2 separate regions of the Homo sapiens genome follow, and region 2 is linked to region 1. The links are contacts of gene promoters, found by promoter capture Hi-C in blood cells and fetal thymus (Javierre and others, 2016). All regions are on one chromosome and are shown on one strand. The core of a region is centred on a gene start or on the middle of the fragment in contact, and the rest is flanking DNA. Distances in the headings are between cores, read along the strand shown.

Region 1 (5,289 bases), core at 1-2,500:
TTATGTTTTTAAGATGCAATGGCAAAATAAAAAGAAAGCATTCCATTGCATTCTGTTGCTTCATTACAGATGCGCTGAACAGTTGCTTATAAAAATCGTGCATTGGGTTCAACCTTTCAGATGAATAAAGGCTTTGTTCTGTCTTGGTCTCATCATGTAATCATCATACTTTTTTTTTCTCAAAATGTGGTATTTAGGGGAGGAAAATGTATGCTTGTTGTGTTTGCTCAATGCCATATGTTTTTGAGTTTTTGTTTTCAAGGCATACAGAAATGCTGTAGACTGGGAAATAAATAAATAAATAAATAAATAAATAACCCTTCCTAAACTTTCTCTTCTTCTGCTTTATCTCAGGAAACTCCAGCACCTCCTAGAACATCTTTTGTGGAATGGCACCTCATGGGGGCCCTTGGATCATGTACCCCTTGTATTCAACAGTAAACATCTTCCTATAATCATTGCTTCATTAACGATAATGTGAGCCAATGCACAGTATTTATCAAATGGCATCTAAGATGGTTAAAGCACACCTAATCCTCTCGTGGGTGCCTGCCAAGAGTAGAAAAGGGTAGTGTATAGATATCAATTTTATTGTCCAGCATTCCCTAATCGAAGTCCCAAGTGGTCTGAAAACTTAGACGAAAGATAAATGGGCCGCAGTAATTAACCACTGCAATAACAGATGTTATACAGGAAACCTGTGTGTGCCAGAGCTATAAGCATGTTTTGATTTTGAATACGCACTTGGGCTAGCACATTCTTCCTCAATAATGGAAATATGTAAATGTTTTGTAAGGTATTAACTGCCATGGCAGACGTTGAATTATTTTTCCTTTAAAAAACATATACATATGCTTTGTCAGATAGTCCAAGGACTTCAGTTTCATGTACAACCTGGATTTCTTTGGAATCTGCGGAGTTTCACATTTTCCCAAGTGTTCACGGTGAAGCTCCTGGCTTCGAGCTGGCTGTCTTCAAGGGTGTTTTCTTGAGCTACCCCTCTCTCTGCTCTGCCAATTATGTGCCACTTTGTCTTGGTGCTATGATTGCTTTCTTCTGAGAGGGAAATTCCTCTTTCATCAGTATGGATGCACTGTTTTTACACACTGCAAGTGCTGTGTTACTGTGTCAGTCATCCTATTAGGGCCAGTTTCAGACGAGTAGGGCTGACGAGCTGGCTGGGGATTGGCTGGCCCCGGCTGGGAGGGATTTGTCGGAAGGAAGGGCTGCAGCTTACAGCAACAGAGTTTAGACTGTCTTTGCTTCATCATCTGAAGGTAAAATTTTCCAGATACGGCAGACGGCTTTCAGAGTACAATAAACAGGGAATGAGAACTATTTACATGGAAGTTTCTTTCTCATGATGCGGTGGAGAAGCCTCGGCCACTTGGTTCTGCCAGATGTTCCTGGGGTTACTGTAAATGGGAAGGACAGGCAGAGCTAAACAAGGTAGGAGAATCGCCCCCCTTTTTTGAATGTTTAAAGAGTTTGCTGCAGTATGCTGCATTCCATGTGTGCTGCTTACGGGAGCCAGGGAAACTGGATTCCACTAATTCAATTGTAATACTTGCGGGGGACCCTGGAGTTTTACGTAACATTTTGATTTGAGAAAAAGAAATGGCAAAGCTTGAATCTATGCCGCCTGTTTGGGGTGAGGCAAGAAATCGAGTTTTTATGCAAAGAATCGATTCATTTATTATATTATTTTTTAAAAACCATTTGAATTCTTTGGAGCAATCTTATTTTCTTGCTGTGAAAAATTGTTATATTGCCATAGCTAGTTCCCAAATAGATAAAGTTTACATGGATCCTATTATTTGAAAACAGACTTGCAATTAAGGATTAAAAAAAAATTCATGGTAAATAATCATCGGTTGAATGTTTGGCCAAACGTATGTGTCTATTTATTAAAAATTAGGGACCTACCTAGCTCTACAATGCTACAGCTTTAATTGAGTTTCAAAAGCACATTTTAAACAACCTAGCAAGAGGTAGCTTTCTGGCAAGTTTTCGATACTGTAGTTCAATGTTTACATTTCTTTTCCTGGCATGTCTGAGCCTTTGTTTCCAGCTTAAAAGTGGAACCATTATATTCAAAAGTAAAGCTGGGTTAATAATGCTTACTGCAATTATCTGATCTTTATGCATTTTTAATGAGAACACACAGCCAGCAGAATAATTTAATGAGGGCAGGCTAGCTTTTAAAGCTGTGTTTTCACTATGCCGAACCATATCAACTTTCTCGCTGAGAAGCAGCAGTGAGAAATGATGGAGAAGATTTATTTTTAACACACTTGGCCCAGGAGAAGGAAAGGATATATTTGCTAAAGAATTCTTTCTGCCCTTTTCCGTTTTAAATTTCTGCCAGGCATGAGGAAACTGTGCTTTTTTGTTAGGCCTCGGAAGCATGTGTTTACAATAAATGTGTAACATTTTTAGAATAGTTAGCAAGCACTGAAGCGAAGAAAAAAATCTGACTTGCCTAACCACCACCACCTTGAATGTTCTACAAGAAACATTACTGTCCCTTTAAAAGACAAAGGTTAAGTGGAAAGCTATTTGTTAATTGGGTAATGTGTGTGTTTTGGGGACAATAAGGTTTTTAAAAAAGGCAGGGGGAACATTCTTATAATCTTTAAATAAGAGGAAGTTTCTTCAGCTATCCTACTTGTTTTGCAAGGAGCAGTAGAACTACTCATTTAAATAAGGGCAATGCCACGTAGATTCTTCTAGACCCACTGTTTTTACTTTCAAGGAGAAGTGCAGGACACTAGCCCAGAACTTCTGACGTCATCCCCCAACTATTTCTGCTGTGTGTTCCTTTATTCGAGCTTGTGGAGAGGAATATTTCTTTATGTCCTGGCCAGGAACATTCTAACTCCCCACTGGCAGGACTTAAGTTATGTCTTTATATTTTCGCCTGTCTTTTGTAAATTGTAAACCTGTCCCCTCATAAATAGGGCATCTTCTTGTACCTGCCACATGTCGGGCCGGTCAGCACAGGTTTTCTGCAGGGCTTCTGGCTGGGCTGGCAAAAAGCAGCAGGGAGCAGGGCAAAGCTTTTTTTCTGGCCTGACTCCCCCTTGGTGCAGCCCAGCGCTGCCACCTGGGTGGATGGTCCCCGGGGCCCTATTCCCAGTTGCTCCAGAGCCACTATTTAGGATCCAGGTTGTGCCACCAAGTTCAAGGCTGGTTGTGATGGTGAGAACAGCTGCTTTCATAGAAAAATCATCATGTCCTAGCACAGATGGCCCCAAGCAGGGGAAGTACAATACTGCAGGCTGCAAATCCATGTCACAGGTGGCAACCTTGGTCACAGAGATCGGGGGAAGGGTAATGTTTACAAAGGAACCTTTTAAAAAAGATTTTGACTGGAGCACATTGGAGTTCTCGGGAGTTCCCAAAGCTAATTTGTGTCTCCTCTCTGACTACTCACGTAGTTTTGAGCAAGTGCCTACCTTGATTTTTCTGTCTTTTAATAGAATTGAATCATACTTGCTACACTTTCCCTCATCATTTAGCATTTTGAGACCTTGACCTTTTACCAAAAAAAAAAAAAAAAAAAAAAAAGTTGTTTGTCTCTTGGCACATTGAGCTATTTAAAGTACAAAGGGATAAAACCTCGGTATTAAGAAACTGTTGGCAAACACCTTAGAGTATTAAGATACATAGTCATATACACAAAACCCTTCACTCTACTTTGTGCTCATGTAAATTTTTTAGGGATACTTTTTCTTAGTTCAACAAATGAAATTTCCAAGGAAATCAAAGCGTTGTTGTTTGCATTTTTTCCATCGATCTAATCTAATATACTAGAAGCTCTGCAAAGCACACTATTCTGGCCACAGGCCTTGTAGTGCCCAAAACATTTAATGCTGTTTTTCCTTTGACTTTTGTGTTAAATTTGTGAAAGTGGAGTAAATAAGAGAAAAAACAAGAGGGAAGGAGAAAAATATGCTTGTGAAATATACTGGTTAGGTAGCTTTACTGGTTAACAGCCTGCCTTCTCTCTGCTAGTTGTTTCAATTTGCTGTTGCTATGGTGAAAACAAATCAATATCACATGGCTACCAGCCAGTCCCGCGCTCAGGGAGTGCCATAGAAATTCAAGATCAGGTACTCAAGATTCCAAGCAAGAATTGGGAAAAGAGGATTTAGATGCTGAGCTTAAGAGAATTCCTTATAGTAGAATAAGTAGGTTCAATCTCTCATGCATTTTCTCTTCCTTTTTTCCTGTACTTTCCTACCGATAACAAGAAAAAGATGAAAAGGAAGGTATACTGATTTGTTTACATTTCCAAAATGACAAAACAGATTATCAACATAGAAATAGGTTGGCAACATTGCAAGGGGTGAAGGATTCTGATTCGGGAAAAGGTGGATAACTACAAGACATGTTGGTTGTTGAAAACATAGTTTTGGGGGCCTTTACCATCTTCAGGTACAGCTACATGTCAGAGCTGGCTGGGTTGTGCCAAGCAGAGAAACCTGGCAACTCTAGGGGGCAGGTGGGCAGTGGAGATAAAGGGGGTTATAAAAAGGTAGGGAGGTGTGGGCATAAAAATCAACAAGCAAGAAAGCCCAGAGAGAGCTGCAGGTCAAGAGTCAGGCCAGGCAAGCACAGATCCCTGGGGCATGGCAGAACAGGAGAGGACAGTTCGCCCTGTTCACGAAATCTGCTCAAGACCCAAGCTAAAGGCCTAGCAAAGAAAGGCAGGAAATAGCTGCAAAGAGAAGTAAAGGTGTCATGGGCCCAGGCATCCTTTCCGGAAGGGTCGACTCAACTGGATGAGCATGGATGTCCACTGCTGGGGAGAGCAAAGAGCTTGATATTTTAATGCTTTGGTTTCTCTCAGAAGAATGAGGCAGGAAGACTTAACCGGGCTTTGTAAATTAGTTAACATACTATTTTTTTTTCTCCAGTTTTATACTCTTCTCAGTTTTTTTTTTCTTTTAAAAAATGTGCACAAACTATTTGTTGCAGCCGTGATAATATTCGTAGTAAAGAGCCAAAGGTGCTGCGTGGCTGGGTCTGCATCAGGCCTGGGCCTCCGACTGCACGGCTCCAACTACACAGTTGTTTATGGAGACCAGTCCCGGCCTCCTCTGCTGAGAGTAAAAACAGGTGTGAAAGGTAAGGCCTAAGGGTTTCTTTTGTAAACCTGAGCTCTGAGGCTGATGGACGAGTTTTGGGCTGGCCTGCCCTCCTCAATACAGCAGAAACGCTTGGTAATAAAAGTGGACTCAATAATTTACCTTAGTGTTTTGACAAAGAATGCATTGTCTGAAT
Region 2 (5,289 bases), core at 836-3,335, 3.4 Mb after region 1:
GGGGAATTAAGGCATATTGAGTGGGCCTCATATGCCAGGCACGACATGACTCTTCTCGTGTCATCCTTTGAACAATAGTATGAACCAGATATTATTATCCCCATTCTACCTGTGAAATGGCTCTGAGAGGTAAAATAACTCACTCAAAGGTACACTGTAAATAAGCGTGCAATGGCTTGAACTCACACCCAGCTGAGCCGAAAACCTGTTCTCTTACCATGAGGTTTAAACGGGGAAGCTGGGTAATATACCCTGAACTGTATATTATCAGGACTTATCATTTATATTTGAACCTCTTTGTTAAAATTATTAGTTCCAGTAAGTAATCCTATACATGTAGTTCTCTCAGTGAAGCACTTTCACACACACGATCCATTTGATCCTTATTCTTGCATGAAATAGTAAAGACCAGGGAGAATTTCTTCTGCTTTGATTGGCACGTGGCCTGTCTGGGCCCAATCAAAGACCACCAGGTGCAAAACTGTAGTTGGATAAAGTCAGATTTATTGGCTCATTGCAAGGAGAGAAGACTGAGGCCAGAGGAATCCTGGGATGCCTCAGCAAAGGTAAAGTTTGAAGACTTAGGGGAGGGGTGGCGTGTAGGTGAAATTTAAAGGAAAGAGTGTTTTGACAGGTTCAAGGCAGACAGAGCTGTGAGTACAGATCAACATCAGGTCTGGAGTCTGGGGGTCTACATCCTTGGAGACTAGAGTTAATATAGATGCAGACTGGCACACCCAGAAACCCTTTAAGGGAAGTTCTGCACCCAGGTTGGAAATAGAGGCTGCTTGTTTGTTTCAAGGAGACTCGGATCCCCCGGGTAAGTTGAGATGGTTCCGTCCTGATGATTTCAAACAGCAAACCTTCTGATAGTCAATGCTTTTCCAGAAGGAAGCCTCTCAGTGAGTAAGAAAGCAGCAAGCACCCAAGGACGGGGGTGATTTGACCTGATATGACATCCGTGTGTCCTTGGAGGACGTATTTCCCGCTCCCTCTGCTGCTGTCGTTATCTGTGCTATCTCAGCCTGATGGATGGCAGGGGGCAGAAGTTTACTTTTTCAGTCTGAGATACCTTTTTAACTGATCAGGCCATATCAGGACTAGAAACCTTCAAAATACTTTATTTCCATGCGGGTGTTGGCATTTCAAACATTATGATATTTCACAACAGATTTTGATGAGGATTTGCATAAGCATGCAAAGCAGCTCACCTTTATAACTTCTTCCAGTGGACTTCTCTATAAGAGTTCATGTTTTTTTAAAAAAGGATAAAGCATCTAGGTATTTTTGAAGACTCCTGGGTTAGTCCAATCTTATTTCATAGAGGAGAAATTAACCAAAGCAAGGACAACTACTGATAGTGACAGGAGGCAGCCAAATGCCTAGGCAGGTAGGGCAGGTCCCCAGTGAAACGCCACCTTCAGGCCAAAAACAGCCTGAAAGCTGAAAGATCGGATTGCCGGTCCCGGATGAAGTCTGCAACCCAGAGTGAGAACTTCTGTTCCTTTTTGCCCATCCTTTCCCAATTGATTCTTTCTGAATTATGCCTTTTAACTAATCAAATGTTGCCTTTTCCAATATTACCTACAGCCTGCCCCTTCTCCATTCTGAGCCCATAAAAAGCCTCAGACTCAGCCATATTAGGGGAACTTTCCCACCTTTGGGTAGGGGCACCACCCCGGCGTCCCCTCTCCATGAAAGCTATTTCATCATTCAGTAACCCCGCCTTGCTCACGCTTTGATTGTCAGTGCATCCTCATTCTTCTTGGGTGTAAGACAAGAACTGGGGAATCAGTGCATAAGCTTGACCGGGCCTGGGCAGGCTGAGTGGGCAGGCTGTGTCCTGCAGCAGGTAGTGTGGTTGAGTGAGGCCTGGGTGGGGTGTTGCATCTTGCAAAATGACTGAGAAGAAAATCCTGTGTCACTACCATTATTTTTATCAGAAGCAACTGAGGCATGGAGTAATTAACAGATTCATCCCAGGTTCCAAGTAACTAAAGGAAGGATTGGAGTTGTTTGTATCTAATTGGATTGCTGGAACTTAAAAATAAAAGACACATGCCAGTGAAGTTAATCCTAGCACAGCTCTCACACACCTGTTCCCATGCTTTTTCTACCCTGTCACCTTGTTTGCCGAGGTCTGCAGTTTCCTAGGCCAGTACTGTGAAAGCTATCATCTGTATGTTTTATCAGAAAGTTCTAGAAATGAGCAGTTTTGATATTCAAGACAAATCTCAAGTCTAGCCATCATAATTAATGCTATCAAAATTTAACTGCTGAGACAAAATTGTTTTTACAAGATGGATAAAAGTAGAATTTAAATCAAGAGAGAAAACATTTTCTCAAACACATCACAAGTGGGAAGAAGAAAGCTTTATTGGTCTTTGGGAAATGCCACATATTTAAAAATAAATGATTAGAAATGTAGGACACTCAGGCAGTTTTGATAAACAAAGTAACTGATTAAAACTACTTGAACTAGTCAGAAAATAAGTGATTGCCCAGGTGTGGTGATTCACGCCTATAATCCCAGCACTTTGAGGGGAGGCTGAAGTAGGAGTTCAAGACCAGCCTGGGCAACATAGGGAGAACTTGTCTCTACTAAAAAAAAAAAAAAATTAACCCAGCATGGTGGCACATACCTGTGGTCCCAGCTACTCAGGAGGCTGAGGCAAGAAGATTGCTTGAGCCCAGGAGGTTGAGGCTGCAGTGGGCTGAGATCGCACCACTGCACTCCAGCCTGAGTGACAGAGCGAGATCCTGTCTACCCCCCTCAAAAAAATATATATATATAAATCTGAAATTATTTCTGGGTCATTTAATTATAGGAAAAGTGAAGGGTTTTCCCCCCTTCAGTTATTTATCAAATATTTTGATATACCAAGCTCTGGTCCAGGACTCTATATGTCTTTTCTCACGTAAACATCTCAATAATTGTGAAAAAGTTACATTCCCCATTTTACAGACAAGGAAGCCAAGGTGCTGAAAGATTAAGTGACTTGCTCTATTAGTTCCCTAGGGCTGTCATAACAAGGCCCCACAGACTGGGTGGCTTCAAACAACAGAAATGCATTCTCTTGCAGTTCTGCAGGCTGGACATCTGAGATCGAGGTATTGGCAGGGGCCACGCTACCCTGGAAGCCTCTAAGGGAGAATTCTTCCTTGTCTCTTCCAGCATTTGGTGGCCCCTGGTGTTCCTTGGCTTGTAGAAGCATCACTCTAATCCCTGCCTCTGGTGTCATCAACTCAGCATGTGGTAGAATGTGAGTCAGGATGGATTTTGGCTTTGAAAAGCTATACCCTGTTTTAAAGAGCCTGCTGAGGGAGGGAGGCTCATTAATCCAAAAGATAGGCACCTGTGTGGAAGTGCATGCCCCTAAAGGTGGAAGCCAACTGGAAGAGGATGAAGAGAGAAATGGAGATCTGTGATGTTATTGCAGGAGGTCAGTACTGTCTGCGTGGTTGAGTGGGGAAAATGAGTGATATGCCTCAAAATACAAATCCCCAGATTGGCACCACTGCAACATAGAGTGCCTGGAGGGATGCTCCAGTGATGTGAATACCTGCTGGATGTCGTCTTTGGCAGAGCCTTTGTTAAGACTCTGACTCGACATGCTGACGTTTTAATTTCCCAAGAATAATCTAGAAGAGGAAGGTAGACGCTATGTAGGTCTATGGGGGAAATTGGGTTTCTAAGATGCCATCACAAAATTTCCCATTCCACGTGCTCTTTTTACAACGTGATGTTGACATGCCTCCCATGGAGAAGTGAGGTCTGCGTTCCCTCCTCTTGAATCTGAATGGACCTATGATGATGGCAGGAGACACTTTGTGACTGCCAAAGCTAGGTCAGAAAAGGTGACATAGCTTCTGCTTGACTCTCTTGGAACTCAGCCACCATGCTGTGAGGAAGCCTAAGCAGCCACATGGAGAGGCCACGTGTTGGCATTCCAGGTCTCAGCTCCAGATGAGCTCACAGCCAATAGCACAAACTGCCAGACGTGGGTGACCAAGACCACAGATGATTCATTCCAGGTCCCAGTCTTTGTGCCACCCCAGCTCATGTGGCATGGAGCAAGAGAGGACCTATTGGGGATGAATCCAGCCCAACTTGCAGATGCATGAGTGTATTAATCAGGATAACGATGGTTGACCAAATATCTGGGCACCCCATGACCTACCTACTCAAGTTGACATATAAAATGAACCATCACAGGCCAGGTGAAGTGGCTCATGCCTGTACTCCCAGCACTTTGGGAGGCCGAGGTGGGTGGATCACCTGAGGTCAGGAGTTTGAGACCAGCCTGGCCAATGTGGCAAAACCCCACCCATACTAAAAATACAAAAATTAGCCAGGCATGGTGGCATGCTCCTGTAATCCCAGCTACTAGGGAGGCTAAGGCAGGAGAATCGCTTGAACCCGGGAGGCAGAGGTTGCAGTGAGCCAAGATCACGCCACTGCATTCCAGCCTGGGCCAAAAAGTGAGACTCTGTCTCAAAAAACAAAACCATCACAATAAGCAAATTAAACTGTTATTTTAAGCCACTAAGTTTTGAGGGTAATAACTGGAACAAACTTTTTTTTTTTTTTTTTTTTTTTTGAGATGGAGTCTCACTCTGTGGTCCAGGCTGGAATGGAGTGGCACAATCTCCACTCACTGCAACCTCTGCCTCCCGGGTTCAAGCGATTCTCCTGCCTCAGCCTCCTGAGTAGCTGGGATTACAGGCTTGAGCCACCAGGACTGGCTAATTTTTGTATTTTTAGTAGAGATGGGGTTTTGCCATGTAGGCCAGGCTGGTCTCAAACTCCTGACCTCAGGTTATCCACCTGCCTTGGCCTCCCAAAGTGCTGGGATTACAGGTGTGAGCCACTGCACAAACTATTTCTAATCAACAATTGGAAGTGCATTGGTAAAGTGAAAATAATAGCAACTGCGGGACAAAGTGGCTATACAGTCAATTTGTGAAAGCTGAAGCAGAAACGGCTGTGCAGGTGCAATTAACTTGAACCAAAAGCTTCAGGAAGGCACATTTCCAGAAGCTAAGTAAATATCTCAGGAGGACAGGGAAGCTGTCAGCTCTCAAAAATGCAATTTGGATTGTGATTCCAGGGAGGGAAAAGATGGGCAGGCACCTAAAACCAGTAATAAAATCAGGAAGTTCACCATTAAACAAAGATATTTAAAAGATTTACCGAAAAGACAAAAATATGACTTGCCCCAGGACAATATGAAAGGGACCATTTGCAAGAATGGTGTCAGAAAAGATAAGCAGAGATCCATCCATTCT

Evidence for each region. The method cuts DNA at HindIII sites, captures the fragments that hold promoters and counts their contacts. A CHiCAGO score of 5 or more calls a contact.
Region 2: a contact is called between a fragment that was not itself captured here and the fragment with the promoter of MBNL2 in region 1, in 1 of 17 cell types (total CD4 T cells). The highest score is 5.2, in total CD4 T cells.

Annotation. Positions count from the first base shown.
Region 1 is chr13:97,221,083-97,226,371 of GRCh38, forward strand. MBNL2 (muscleblind like splicing regulator 2) reads left to right here and starts at 1,251. Exons shown (of 9, transcript NM_001382683.1): 1 at 1,251-1,449. RefSeq lists an enhancer at 1,273-1,332. The HindIII fragment of the contact is 4,024 bases long and covers 1-1,624 here.
Region 2 is chr13:100,593,503-100,598,791 of GRCh38, forward strand. No RefSeq gene overlaps it. Among named protein-coding and RNA genes, the nearest start is that of GGACT, 7.4 kb to the left of the region's middle. The HindIII fragment of the contact is 569 bases long and covers 1,802-2,370 here.